3 separate regions of the Homo sapiens genome follow, and all the other regions are linked to region 1. Evidence: promoter capture Hi-C in 16 types of primary human blood cells and fetal thymus (Javierre and others, 2016). All regions are on one chromosome and are shown on one strand. The core of a region is centred on a gene start or on the middle of the fragment in contact, and the rest is flanking DNA. Distances in the headings are between cores, read along the strand shown.

Evidence for each region. The method cuts DNA at HindIII sites, captures the fragments that hold promoters and counts their contacts. A CHiCAGO score of 5 or more calls a contact.
Region 2: a contact is called between a fragment that was not itself captured here and the fragment with the promoter of SELENOT in region 1, in 1 of 17 cell types (naive CD8 T cells). The highest score is 5.8, in naive CD8 T cells.
Region 3: the fragment with the promoter of SLC33A1 here is called in contact with the fragment with the promoter of SELENOT in region 1 in 4 of 17 cell types (non-activated CD4 T cells, naive CD8 T cells, total CD4 T cells and 1 more); the score reaches 11.1 in non-activated CD4 T cells.

Annotation. Positions count from the first base shown.
Region 1 is chr3:150,601,582-150,605,492 of GRCh38, forward strand. It overlaps SELENOT (selenoprotein T), which reads left to right and starts at 1,740. Exons shown (of 6, transcript NM_016275.5): 1 at 1,740-1,918. The coding sequence starts at 1,782. It overlaps LOC124900547 (a long non-coding RNA gene), which reads right to left and starts at 1,602. Exons shown (of 2, transcript XR_007096128.1): 1 at 1,363-1,602. RefSeq lists enhancers at 1,529-1,608, 1,729-1,878, 1,851-2,624, 1,899-2,198. The HindIII fragment of the contact is 3,294 bases long and covers 1,212-3,911 here.
Region 2 is chr3:157,171,957-157,175,867 of GRCh38, forward strand. LOC101928236 (a long non-coding RNA gene) reads left to right here and starts at 1,744. Exons shown (of 10, transcript XR_007096141.1): 1 at 1,744-2,599; 2 at 2,793-3,433. It also overlaps the pseudogene RNA5SP146. RefSeq lists enhancers at 2,393-3,592, 2,879-3,258. The HindIII fragment of the contact is 1,335 bases long and covers 996-2,330 here.
Region 3 is chr3:155,852,296-155,856,206 of GRCh38, forward strand. SLC33A1 (solute carrier family 33 member 1) reads right to left here and starts at 2,132. Exons shown (of 6, transcript NM_004733.4): 1 at 928-2,132. The coding sequence starts at 1,702. LOC105374174 (a long non-coding RNA gene) reads left to right here and starts at 2,458. Exons shown (of 3, transcript XR_924607.4): 1 at 2,458-2,783. RefSeq lists enhancers at 1,720-1,789, 2,160-2,719. The HindIII fragment of the contact is 4,607 bases long and covers 1,373-3,911 here.

The DNA.
Region 1 (3,911 bases), core at 490-2,989:
CTTAAGGATAGAGATAGAGCCCAAAAACTCTCCAACCAAGCAGACAACAACGTTGAACCCCCTTGGACACTCTCTAATTGGATGTCCTGGGTACTCCCAATTCTTAGTCCTTTAATACCTATTTTTCTCCTTCTTTTATTCGGACCTTGTGTCTTTCATTTAGTTTCTCAATTCATACAAAACTGCATCCAGGCCATCTCCAATAATTCTATACGACAAATGCTCCTTCTAACAACCCCACAATATCACCCCTTACCCCCAAATCTTTCTTCAGTTGAATCTCTCCCACTGTGGGTTCCCACGCCGCCCCTAATCTCGCTCGAAGCAGCCCTGAGAAACATCGCCTATTATCTCTCCATACCACCCCCAAAAATTTTCGCTGCCCCAACACTTTACCACTATTTTGTTTTATTTTTCTTATTAATATAAGAAGACAGGAATGTCAGGCCTCTGAGCCTAAGCTAAGCCATCATATCCCCAGTGACCTGCACATATACATCCAGATGGCCTGAAGCAACTGAAGATCCACAGAAGTGAAAATAGCCTTAACTGATAACATTCCACCATTGTGATTTGTTTCTGCCCCACCCTAACTGATCAATGTACTTTGTTGATCAGTAATCTCCCCCACCCTTAAGAAGGTTCTTTGTAATTCTCCCCACCCTTGAGAATGTACTTTGTGAGATCCAACCCCTGCCCCCAAAATATTGCTCTTAACTCCACCGCCTATCCCAAAACCTATAAGAACCAATGATAATCCCACCACCCTTTGCTGACTCCCTTTTCGGACTCGGCCCGCTTGCACCCAGGTGAAATAAACAGCTGTGTTGCTCACACAAAGCCTGTTTGGTAGTCTCTTCACACGGACATGTGAAACACTGTGGTCAATTTTTTTTCTTTTTAATAATAATTCTTTTTTAGAAATATGTGCTTAAATAATTGTAAGCCAGGCATAGTTGCCTGTGCCTGTATTCCTAACCACTTGGGAAGCTGAGGCAGGACTGCTTGAGCCCAGGGGTGTGAGGCTGCAGTAAGCTATGATCACGCCACTGAACTCCAGCCTGGGTGACAGTGAGACCGTGTTTAAAAATATATATATACAGATGAAATGATATGATGTCTGAGATTTGCTTCCAAATATGCCTAGGAAGGGAAGAAGTGTTTAGAGATATAGACAAATCAAGATTGTCAAAATGTATAGTAACTGTTAAAGCTTGCTAAGGTAGTTATTCTATTTTTGGATATGTTTGGAATTGTCCAAAGGTTTCCTAAAACTTATGTTTAATATTCTTTCAGGAGAAAGCAATATTGTAAGATCAAAGAAAAGGCCATAACAGCGCACCCAAAAAATTTCAGCATTACCATTCTGAGGGTCAGGAGTCTCCTCCCTTCCATCCGCCAACACTTGAATCAGGACTATAAAGTAGGTGTTTCCAAGTCTCAGGCAGGTAAATGGATAAATTGCAAAACTGGATGCAGAACTCACATCTGCCTCATACATAGGCCCTGTGACACCCCACCAGCTCCTTTGCTCCCTTTCTGCCTTTCTCATGCCGTCCCAGAGTCTTGCACACTACCAAGATGGTGGTGAGTCAGGACAGTGAAACAGGTCGGCTCTTCACTCCAGGAGTGTGCGCGGGCGCCGGGCCGCGCAGGCGCATTACTGCTCCCCTCCCCCGACCTTGGCTGATCGCGCCTGCGCAGTGGGGAGCAGCTCGCTCCTGGGCTTTGGGCTGGCTGCAGTCTGTCTGAGGGCGGCCGAAGTGGCTGGCTCATTTAAGATGAGGCTTCTGCTGCTTCTCCTAGTGGCGGCGTCTGCGATGGTCCGGAGCGAGGCCTCGGCCAATCTGGGCGGCGTGCCCAGCAAGAGATTAAAGATGCAGTACGCCACGGGGCCGCTGCTCAAGTTCCAGATTTGGTGAGTATGTGCACTGGGCCCCGGCCACCCCGCCGCGCCTCTGCTCGGCGCCATTGGCTACGCGAGGCCCCGGCTTCGCGGCCTAAATGGCCGCATCTTCGCTGGCCTCGTAGAACTGTGCCGGCGCCCTTCCACAGCCAGCCTTCTCGCGGCCCCTTAGCGCGGTCAGGCCGCCCTCCTTTTCCAGGTATAACTGCTCACTTGTTTTTTGCCTCCTAGAACAGTGGGAATGGGGAAGGAGGGCGCGAGAAGGTTAAACGCTGAAAGGCGAAGACTGGGGGACACCTGTTAGTACGGAGGACTGGTTGGCGGCGTCACGCCATAGCCACCCCGGCTGCCTGCGGAGATGGGGATGAGTAGGCGCCGCGTCGGCGGAGGAGCGCCAACCGTTTGTCAGTTCACTTTTTCTGCCCTCTTTTCCGGGGTAATGCCGGGCGGCTTCGCTGCCTGGCTAGATGAAGGTTAATTCGGGTCATTGGAGAGGATCCGGGAGTGACAGACGCCGTTTTTCTCCTGAACTTGCTGGGGGGACTGTTGAGTTTGCGAATGGGGCGTCTGACAGCTGGAGGGGGTGGAAGGAAGGTCTGGGGATGCTGGTTCTGTTTGCCATTTCCAAAGTGTCAGAAAAGGAGCACGTTGTTCTTCTAAACATTGACAGTTCGCTCGCATTCCCTCCTCACCTGCCTCCCAGGAGTTGCCTGCTCTGGCATCTCTTTCTACCTTTCAGTTGTCTTGTGTATCCAGCAGATCTCGGCAGTTTTCGACAGTGTTCTTTAAATGATTTTGTTTTTAACCTAATCGTTAGAAGCAGGGCAATGATGCATTTTATACGGTAAGTGGGGTTGCGGGTGGGGATTGAAAGGCTCTGAAGATGGGGGAAAAAACACCAAAATTGTAAAATTATAGAAATGAGAATCTTACACCTCCAAAGATGACATTTTCTCAGGATAAACCGACCATCCCAGAATAGCCAGATTAGTAAATCATCAGAGTCCGGATACATTGGAATGTTGGTGTTGGACATCATTCATTTAAAACCTTCTTTTAAGAACTTCATGTATTAGTATATTAAAGTTTTGATTTTCTACTTCTCCAACTAGCTTTTTACTTACTCACTGAAGACCAAGCAAACCTTTAAAATAATTTTTAAAAATCGGCTTAAGGTGATGTTTGAGTTAGAAAATAAGATGGTGAGACTTTATTTTTTTGAGTGAAAACTAAAACATTGCAATTTCTCCTGATTAAAAACAAACAAGGCCGGGCTCGCTGGCTCACGCCTGTAATCCCAGCACTTTGGAGGCCGAGGCTAGCGGATCACCTGAGGTCGGGAGTTCGAGACCAGCCTGACCAACATGGAGAAACCCCCATCTCTACTAAAAATACAAAAATTAGCCTGGCGTGGTGGCGCATGCCTGTAATCCCAACTACTTGGGAGGCTGAGGCAGGAGAATCGCTTGAACCCGGGAAGCGGAGGTTGCGGTGAGCCGAGAACGCGCCATTGCACTCCAGCCTGGGCAACAAGAGCGAAACTCCGTCTCAAAAAAAAAAAAAAAAACCTCCCTGTACAATGTACTATGTTTCTGGAATATATCATCTTTCATGTAATACTGCAAATGGGAGAATGGTTTATCCATTAACTTTTTTCCTTAATTTTTAAATTAGAAGGTGGTAATCATCTTACTAACCTAAAGATTGTTAAGGGTTGTGATACTTACGGATTTAAGTGTTAAAAAATTGCAGTTTTCAAATTATTTAATTTTTCTGTATCCTACTTTTATCTCTTGGTTGTATTTTTGCTTTTCCAAAATACCCCTTTTACGTTTGCTTTTTTTGGAACACTTGTCACAATAATTTACCAGGTGTATCTTCCACCAAGGCTATTCATAGCAAGGTTTTCAAAATGTGTAAACAAACGTAGGGAAGGGCATTCAGTCCTTCAAATTAAACTTAAAAAAAAAGTAGTAAGTACTTCAGTTAAACTTTTGATACTTTG
Region 2 (3,911 bases), core at 413-2,912, 6.6 Mb after region 1:
AATGTTTTCTATTTCATAATAAACATTCAACAGAAATAGAATTTCAAGAGGAAACTTTTATAAATAATGAGAATCAGCTATTCCGAAGCTCCCTACACATTTTAATTAGTTTTCTCCCAGGAACACATTCATTAACTATTTTGAACACTATAAAACAAAAGTAAACCAGCACCACATCAAGTTCCCTGCGTATAGCTGTCATGTCTGTTTAAATTCTATAGCAGTTTGTGTGTGTGTGTGTGTGTGTGTGTGTGTGTGTGTGTGTGTCTTGTGATATTTTTCACAATTCCAGGCCAACTACTTTGAAGCATGTTCCTAAATTTGGATGTGTCTGATTATTTCCTCATGATTAGATTCAGGTTAAAGATTTTTCAAGGAATACTCCATAGGTAATGTTGTATCTCCATGCTTCACATCTAGGGGCACACGATGCCCAATTTTTTGTTCAATTATTGGCTACTTTTTATCATTTGTTAAGGTGGTATCCATCAGATTTCTCCATTGTAAAAGTACCTTAACACCCTTGCAATTAATAAGTAATCCATGGGATTATTCTTCCACAGTAAATAGCATTCTAACAAATATCAGTATCAAAGAAAAATGGCCCATAATGAAATTTTGTACAGTTAGAATGACTCTAACAAATCTCTACTGAGTATTCACTAAACTATGTTATGCTAGGCACTAAGACCAAAGTGATGAACAAATAGAGTACATGGAATGCTACATGAAAGGGTAGAATGCTACAGGAGCATACAGGAGAGGAACAAAGACCATTACATGTGAAGAAATGGAAGTTCAGAGATGTGAAAGGACTCGACCAAGATTTTAGATCCAGTAGCAGAGTGAAATTAGAACGGTGGTTTTTCTGATGCCCAGTCCAGTGTTCTTTCCATGACCACACACAAGGGCTCTACTGTAATGTTGGTTCTCTGGAACAAGTATAGCATTTGTTACCACAGTGAAAACAATGATACCTTAGTACTAAAAGAACAAGCTTTCTCCAGATCTACCACAAGGTGCTTTAGAGGGAATTTCGATTTAAACTATGTGCATTGTAACATTGAAGTCACTGGAGACCTAGTCTAGTTTTGCCTCAGGGAACTGTTTCTTTATAGTGTCACTGTCACACACACATGCACATACACACGCAGGCACATGCATACAGCACATAACTGGATATTGCTTATCAGCCCCATCTTAAAAATAGCACAGAACAAGACTTTTATTTTCAGCAATCAGGAAACGTTCAGAGGTATCTACATCCTAGTCTTGAGAGTCGACTTATATTTGATACCTGATTTTTATAGTTTTCACAGCATTTTCATATACTATCACTGGACTCTCAAAAACAACACAGTTAAGGCAGGTGTGATTGGGCACAGCTGTAGTACCAGGTACTCAGGAGACTAAGGCGAGAGGATAACTTGATCCCAGGAGTTCAAGTCCAGCCTGGGCAACATAAGGAGACCTCATCTCTTAAAAAACACCTGAACTGGCCAGACGCGGTGGCTCACGCCTGTAATCCCAGCGCTTTGGGAGGCCGAGGTGGCTGGATCACCTGAGGTCAGGAGTTGGAGACCAGCGTGACCAACATGGTGAAACCCCGTTTGCGGTGTTAGCCAGGTGTGGTGCCGCATGCCTCTAATCCCAGCTACTTCAGGAGGCTGAGGCAGGAGACTCACTTGAACCCAGAAGGCGCAGGTTGCAGTGAGCCAAGATCGCGCCCATTGCACTCCAGCCTGGGTGACAAGAGCAAAACGCTGCCTCAAAAAAATACAAAAAACACAAAAAAAAACCCCACCTGAATTATTTCTTAAGGTGGGAAAGAGGGATCAGTGTAAAATGTTGGCTGGATTACTGTCTTGCCTTTAGATATAAAAATATCTAGTGTATACTTAATTTTCAGAATTACAAAATTAGGGAATGATCAAACGTATATATATATTTTATTTTTCAAAAGCCTGCGGCACCCAGTGTTTCAAGGTGGTCTCGCATTCAAGGACTAGCTAAGCAGGTCAGACCCTGCTTAGCTTCCAAGATCAGAGAAGACAGGGCAAGTTCAGGGTGGTGTGGCTGTGGACCATGTTTTTATACCTATAATTTATTTATATTCATTCACTCAATCCTGCTGTATGCAGGACGATCTCAGCTTCAAACTCAAAAGCTGGATCTGGTGGTCAGCTCTTTCAGGCACTGTTTTGTCATGGGATTTAAAGATCTCTTGTGCTTAGTTTTGGATCTGTAAACATAAATCCCAACCTGGATTCTTCCCTGGGCTGACGGAGTTCAGGGAGAAAGGTAGCAGTAGATAAGTCATATGCTGGAAAAGCTTGGACTCTACCCTGTCATGAAAACTTTCAGGAACATTTCTTATTTCTTTTTAGAGACAAGGTCTCACTATGTTGCCCAGGCTGGCCTCGAACTCCCGGGCTTCAGCAGTCCTCCCGCCTCACCCTCCGATGTAGCTAGGACTACAGGACCGCGACCCGGCGCTGCCTAAGAACTGTTTTTAAACGTGAAAGCCACGGCTATCATTTGCTTTTTGCTCTGCTCTTCATCTTCTGGATAAACCTCGTAACACACTGCTTGTTTTGGGGTAAGTGAATTTAAGTATTATTATGGCATTTCCAATTTTCACGGAAGGACTCTGGCGATATCATAATCGTCACAAGCCCTGAAACGGCCATCAGAGGTCAAGCAGGGAGGTGGGTTTTCTGGAGGGCTTAACTGTGGGGTAAGTGACTGGAGGGGGCTGATCAGTTTCCCCTTTCCCTTTTCCCGGAGCTCAGTGGTAGTCTGCTGCCTACGCCCCGTCAGACAAGTGGCCTGAGTCCCCCGCAACCCCTGCAGGTCCGGCCGCCGGCGCCAAGCCTCAAGGCATCCAAGCCAGGAACGATCGCGGTCAGCTCTGCCACGGAACATGTGCAAGACCCGGCAGCAGGTTCCGGGGGAGGCGAATTGATTTCACAACGGTCGAGAAGGAGGACCCCGCCCACTTCGTCATTTCTCGGAAGCCCAGGGACTCGCCGGAAGAGCGGCTCAAAAGCCGGAAAACTGGCAAATCCGAGTCTCCCGGCGCATGCGCGGCGCAATCGGCTTCGCGTGGTTGCAGTAGAGAGGATCCCTCCGCCAGCCACTGCATCCGGCGGCCGGATCTAACTTACCCGCTAGCGTTTTACCCTTGCGCGGCCGTGGCGTAGGGCGGTCTTTTCCCTTGGTCCTCCGCGGCGCCGCCTCTTGTGACGTAAGCCGCAGAATCCTCTGTCTTAGTTCGGCTCTATTGCCGCGAGCTTGACTCTTCCTGGGTCTGAGGAAAAGTAAAAGTAATTTTGTCATTTCCTGAAACTTCAAGTTAAACCTTTAAGCTGTTCATTTCCTAAAAGGGTGAAAACGCGGGCACCCCTCGAGCTAGTTCATCGCCTTTTAACCTGTGAGTTCTGTTAAAAGGAAGTAACTGCAAAATGTCTTCGCTGTTAGGTTTCTTTGGAAGTTTTGGGTTGTGTTCATGCGTTCTCTCGGCGTGTGAACTGGGAGAAAGTGGAGTGCCAGCCATATGAAATGACAACTGTATATGGAGGCTGGGAAGTATAATGCGCATTCTGGCTTGATGAAATTAATGAAATTTTAATTAAGTTTAATTTTCATTTGAATTACCCAGGAATAGCATCTTGAAAGGCGGGGCATAAAAAGCAGTTAAAGAGCTTCGAGAAACGGTTACTCGTTTTGTAAACTAAAGACCAAATGAAAATCCAGCTGCACTAGAAAAGAAAGAAACTTATAAGGGCCGAAGGTTTTGTCTGCAATTTACAGCTAATTAGTCTCAAAGATTTCTGTGATTTGCCCAAGAGAGGTGGAGTTGGGGCCACTGCTTTACCCAGGACACCGCCGCGGCCCGCTTGAATACTGCC
Region 3 (3,911 bases), core at 882-3,381, 5.3 Mb after region 1:
CCCCAACTATCTCAATTAAAAAAAAGAAGAAAAAAGAAAAAAGAGAAAAACTTACATGTGTTTTACTCATGCAGAGAAACAGGGAAATTTTTTAGAACTTACCCTCCATTACTTACAGGACAAACTTTAAACTCTTTTCCCATAGTAATTAAAGAAAATCTTACTAATTTAGTCACAGCCTTTCTCAGCACGATTTCCCAAACCCAGTTCCACAATTTAGGCAATGTCCTGTACTTTTTTGTACTTTCCTGCCTCAGTGCACTTTTACTTTGTGTTGTGCATTCTGGTGTGCCATTTCCTGGCCTCGTGGAATCTTATTCAAGAACAAAGTCAAATGTTATCTGCAATGTGAAGCCTGACTCCCAAAGGCAGTTACTAACTGGCAACTCTGAACTCTCCTAAAATGTTCATCTTCCTTATTTCTTGAGTGCAGAACTCTGCCTTATTCATTAGAGGCCTTAGAATCCCGTCCCTTAGCTGGTTCAATAATGTTTGAACGAATAAACCCTGTTCCATTCACTAGAAGGCTGGATTCTGGGTACAACGGTAGGGGTAGAAATGGATTAGAAAGTATAGAGCTAGAAACCTAAAACCAACAAGACAAAAGGAAAAATGTGAACCATATGAGCCACACTTTTTAAAAGTGTGCATTTGTGTATTAAGCAAGTGGCATGAATCCCTGGACTCGGTTGTGTTATTTGATGGGTTGCCTCTCCCTGTTAACCGCATAGTGATCATTTGATTGCTCTAATATCATTCATTTTGGCTTTAATATTTCAAAGAAGCTCATTTGGACGAAACAGAAAACTTACCTTGAGTTATCTCCCATACAATGATTTCCAGTAAATTAATGAGCTTCCCTCCAACGTCACACACTCTTTCAAAAGGATAAATAAACCTAACACCATAATAGCTTAAATACACTACCTGAAAGAGTAACGATTCCTCTGGGTTGAGGCTGAAACCGCAAATATTTGTTACAAAAGTCGGCAGATTCAAGGGCCAAAAACAAAACATTGCCCAAAAAGTAACCCGCTGTTTGGCCCACCGAATTGCAAGTAGAAGCATAACCCACATTTTCCCTGGATAACATAGTTAACGCCCAACCATCGACGGCAATGTCCTGAGTGGCGGCCAAGAATTCAAACAAAAAGAACGCCACAGTGAGAGCAATCACGTCGGGTGTTCTGTCATCGGTATTCCCAAGCAAACGGTCCACCTGAGTGGATAAATAGATCATGAAGAGTCCTAGTATATACTGTGTCGGGACAAGCCAAGATTTGCGACGACCGAAGTTCTTAACGTAGACCGCATCAACCAACGGGGCCCAGAGTAATTTGAGACTGAAGGGCCAAAAGACAAAACTGAAGAAAGCTTGGTCTGTATAGCTAACATTTTTGCTTTGCAAAATGAGTGGGATGCTTCCCGCCAAGCCCAGGGGAATACCCTGAAGCACGTAAAGAAAGAGTAGTAGCAAAATGCTGCTTAGTTCGGCCCGGAAGCTCTGTGGGGCTTTTAAGAAGTCGCCAGTGCCGGTATCCCCCAGAAGAGCTTCTCTGTCCCCTTCCCGGCCCGCTGAGTCCAAATGACTGTCATCCCAACCGCCTGGCGGCAGGGGACCGCTCTTCATATCCAGAGAGTGACTGAAATTCCCTGGCCGCCGTTGCCGGCTGCTGTCCTTGTGGGAGATGGTGGGTGACATATCAGAGACGATGCAGAGCCCCGTCTGTGGGGGGCCGAGGCTGAGCGTTTTGGATCCGTCCAGTCCCAGGTCCAAGGCTGTCGCGCTGGACCAGGGTTTCGGTGGTTCACGGGATGGTGGCAGGGCTCAGAGCGATAAGGGCACTTCTTACTGCAGCCCGGAGTGCTGAAGCCGGGAGCCAGTCCTCTGGCTAGAGGCCCAGAGGATGCCTGGATAGGTGCCCCCTGGAACGGCGTCAAAGAGCCTGAAGGAGACCCCCGGGCAGCAGCGCCGGGCTCGAGGCTGGAGGTGTGTGCCGTGGTGCCAGGATGGAAACCAGCTCCTACCTGCGGCGGGATCGAACGGCTGGTCTCCCGACCCAACACCTCCAGCTCTCGCTGCTATCAATGCGGCAGAGAGCACTTTCTCTACAGGACTCCAGAAAAAGCATATAACTTCCTGCCTCGCGCTTCAGGAAGTGGTCCCAGTCTCTAACAGGTCCCTTCCCAGCCTCCAGAGCAAGCCAATCAGGGACACGCTCTCGTGGCCCAGTTCGGAAACAATGCTTGGTGGGAACCTGCAATCTTGGCTGCCGGAACCTTCGGGGAGGATTAACGCCGGCGCACCGTGCGGCCGGGGCGGGGCGCCGCCCAAACTCAGGCCCTGTGACAGCGACTGTGGCGGTCTGGAAAGCGTGGGCCTCGGTCATTGGGCACGAGCGGTCACGTGACAGCGGGTTCCTCCAGGCCAGCGCTGGTGGTTGAGTGATGTAATCACGTGGGGTCTGAAGTCTTCGTGGGTGTAGGTTTCTTCGTTATGCTGACGACAGGCAGTGCCCGAACTCTAGGCTGGGAGTTGTGCCATGCTGCTGCTTTCGTGGGCTGACCAGAAAAGGGTAGAAGGATTGACGTTTACGAAGTTTTTGAATCAGGAGGCAAGGTCGCCTTGTGCCCCCAAAAGGATAGAAAAAGGCCTGGCAAACTGGAGAATCGCGTCCTTACGGTGCCTACATATTTATAGTACGAATTAAACTGCTCAAGGGGTGCTAGGTTTGTCTGCAGTCCGTTTCTCCCTCATGGTGGAAGACGCGTGGGGAAACTTGGTAACCAACTCTAATTACATTGGTGATTGGAAGACTCGTTACATCCTGTTTTTATGTTGCAATAAAACGTCTTGTGGCCGGGCGCGGTGGCTCACGCCTGTAATCCCAGCACTTTGGAAGGCCGAGGCGGGCGGATCACCTGAGATTGGGAGTTCAAGATCAGCCTGACCAACAAGGAGAAACCCGTCTCTACTAAGAGACGTACAGGAATTTGAGAATCTGATTAATTTTTTTTCTGCTCTCTCACCTCTGGCAGAAAGATTATTATTTTTTTTTCTTTTGAGAGGAATCTCACACTGTCGCCTGGGCTGGTGTTCAGTAGGGCCATCTCGGCTCGCTGCAGCCTCCACCTCCCGGGTTCAAGCGATTCTCCTGCCTCAGCCTCCCGAGTAGCTGGGACTACAGGCACGCGCCACCACGCCCGGCTAATTTTTGTATTTTTAGTAGAGACGGGGTTTCACTATGTTGGCCAGGCTGGTCTCGAACTCCTGACCTCGTGATCCGCCTGCCTCGGCCTCCCAAAGTGCTGGGATTACAAACGTAATGGCAGGCTAGGCACAGTGGCTCACGCCTATAATCCCAGAACTTTGGGAGGCCGAGGCGGGTGGATCACGAGGTCAAGAGATTGAGACCATCCTGGCCAACACGGTGAAACCCCGTCTCTACTAAAAATACAAAAAATTAGCTCGGCCTGGTGGCGCGCGCCTGTAGCCCCAGCTACTTGGGAGGCTGAGACAGGAGACTCGCTTGAACCTGGGAGGCGGAGGTTGCAGTGAACCGGGATCGTGCCACTGCAATCCAACCTGGCGACAGAGTGAGACTCCGTCTGGAAAAAAAAAAAAAAGGCAACTGTAAAGTCCTCTAATCTTTGTTAAGTAGAAGAATAGATTGCAGAAAAGAACAGTGTTGGCCGGGCGCGGTGGCTCACACCTGTAATCCCAACACTTTGAGAGGCTGAGGCGGGCAGATCACTTGAGGTCAGGGGTTCAAGACAAGCCTGGCCAATATGGTGAAACCCTGTCTCTACTAAAAATACAAAAATCAGCTGGGTGTGGTGGCTCATGCCTGTAGTCCCAGATACTCGGGAGGCTGGGGCTGGAGAATCGTTTGAACCCGGGAGGCGGAGGT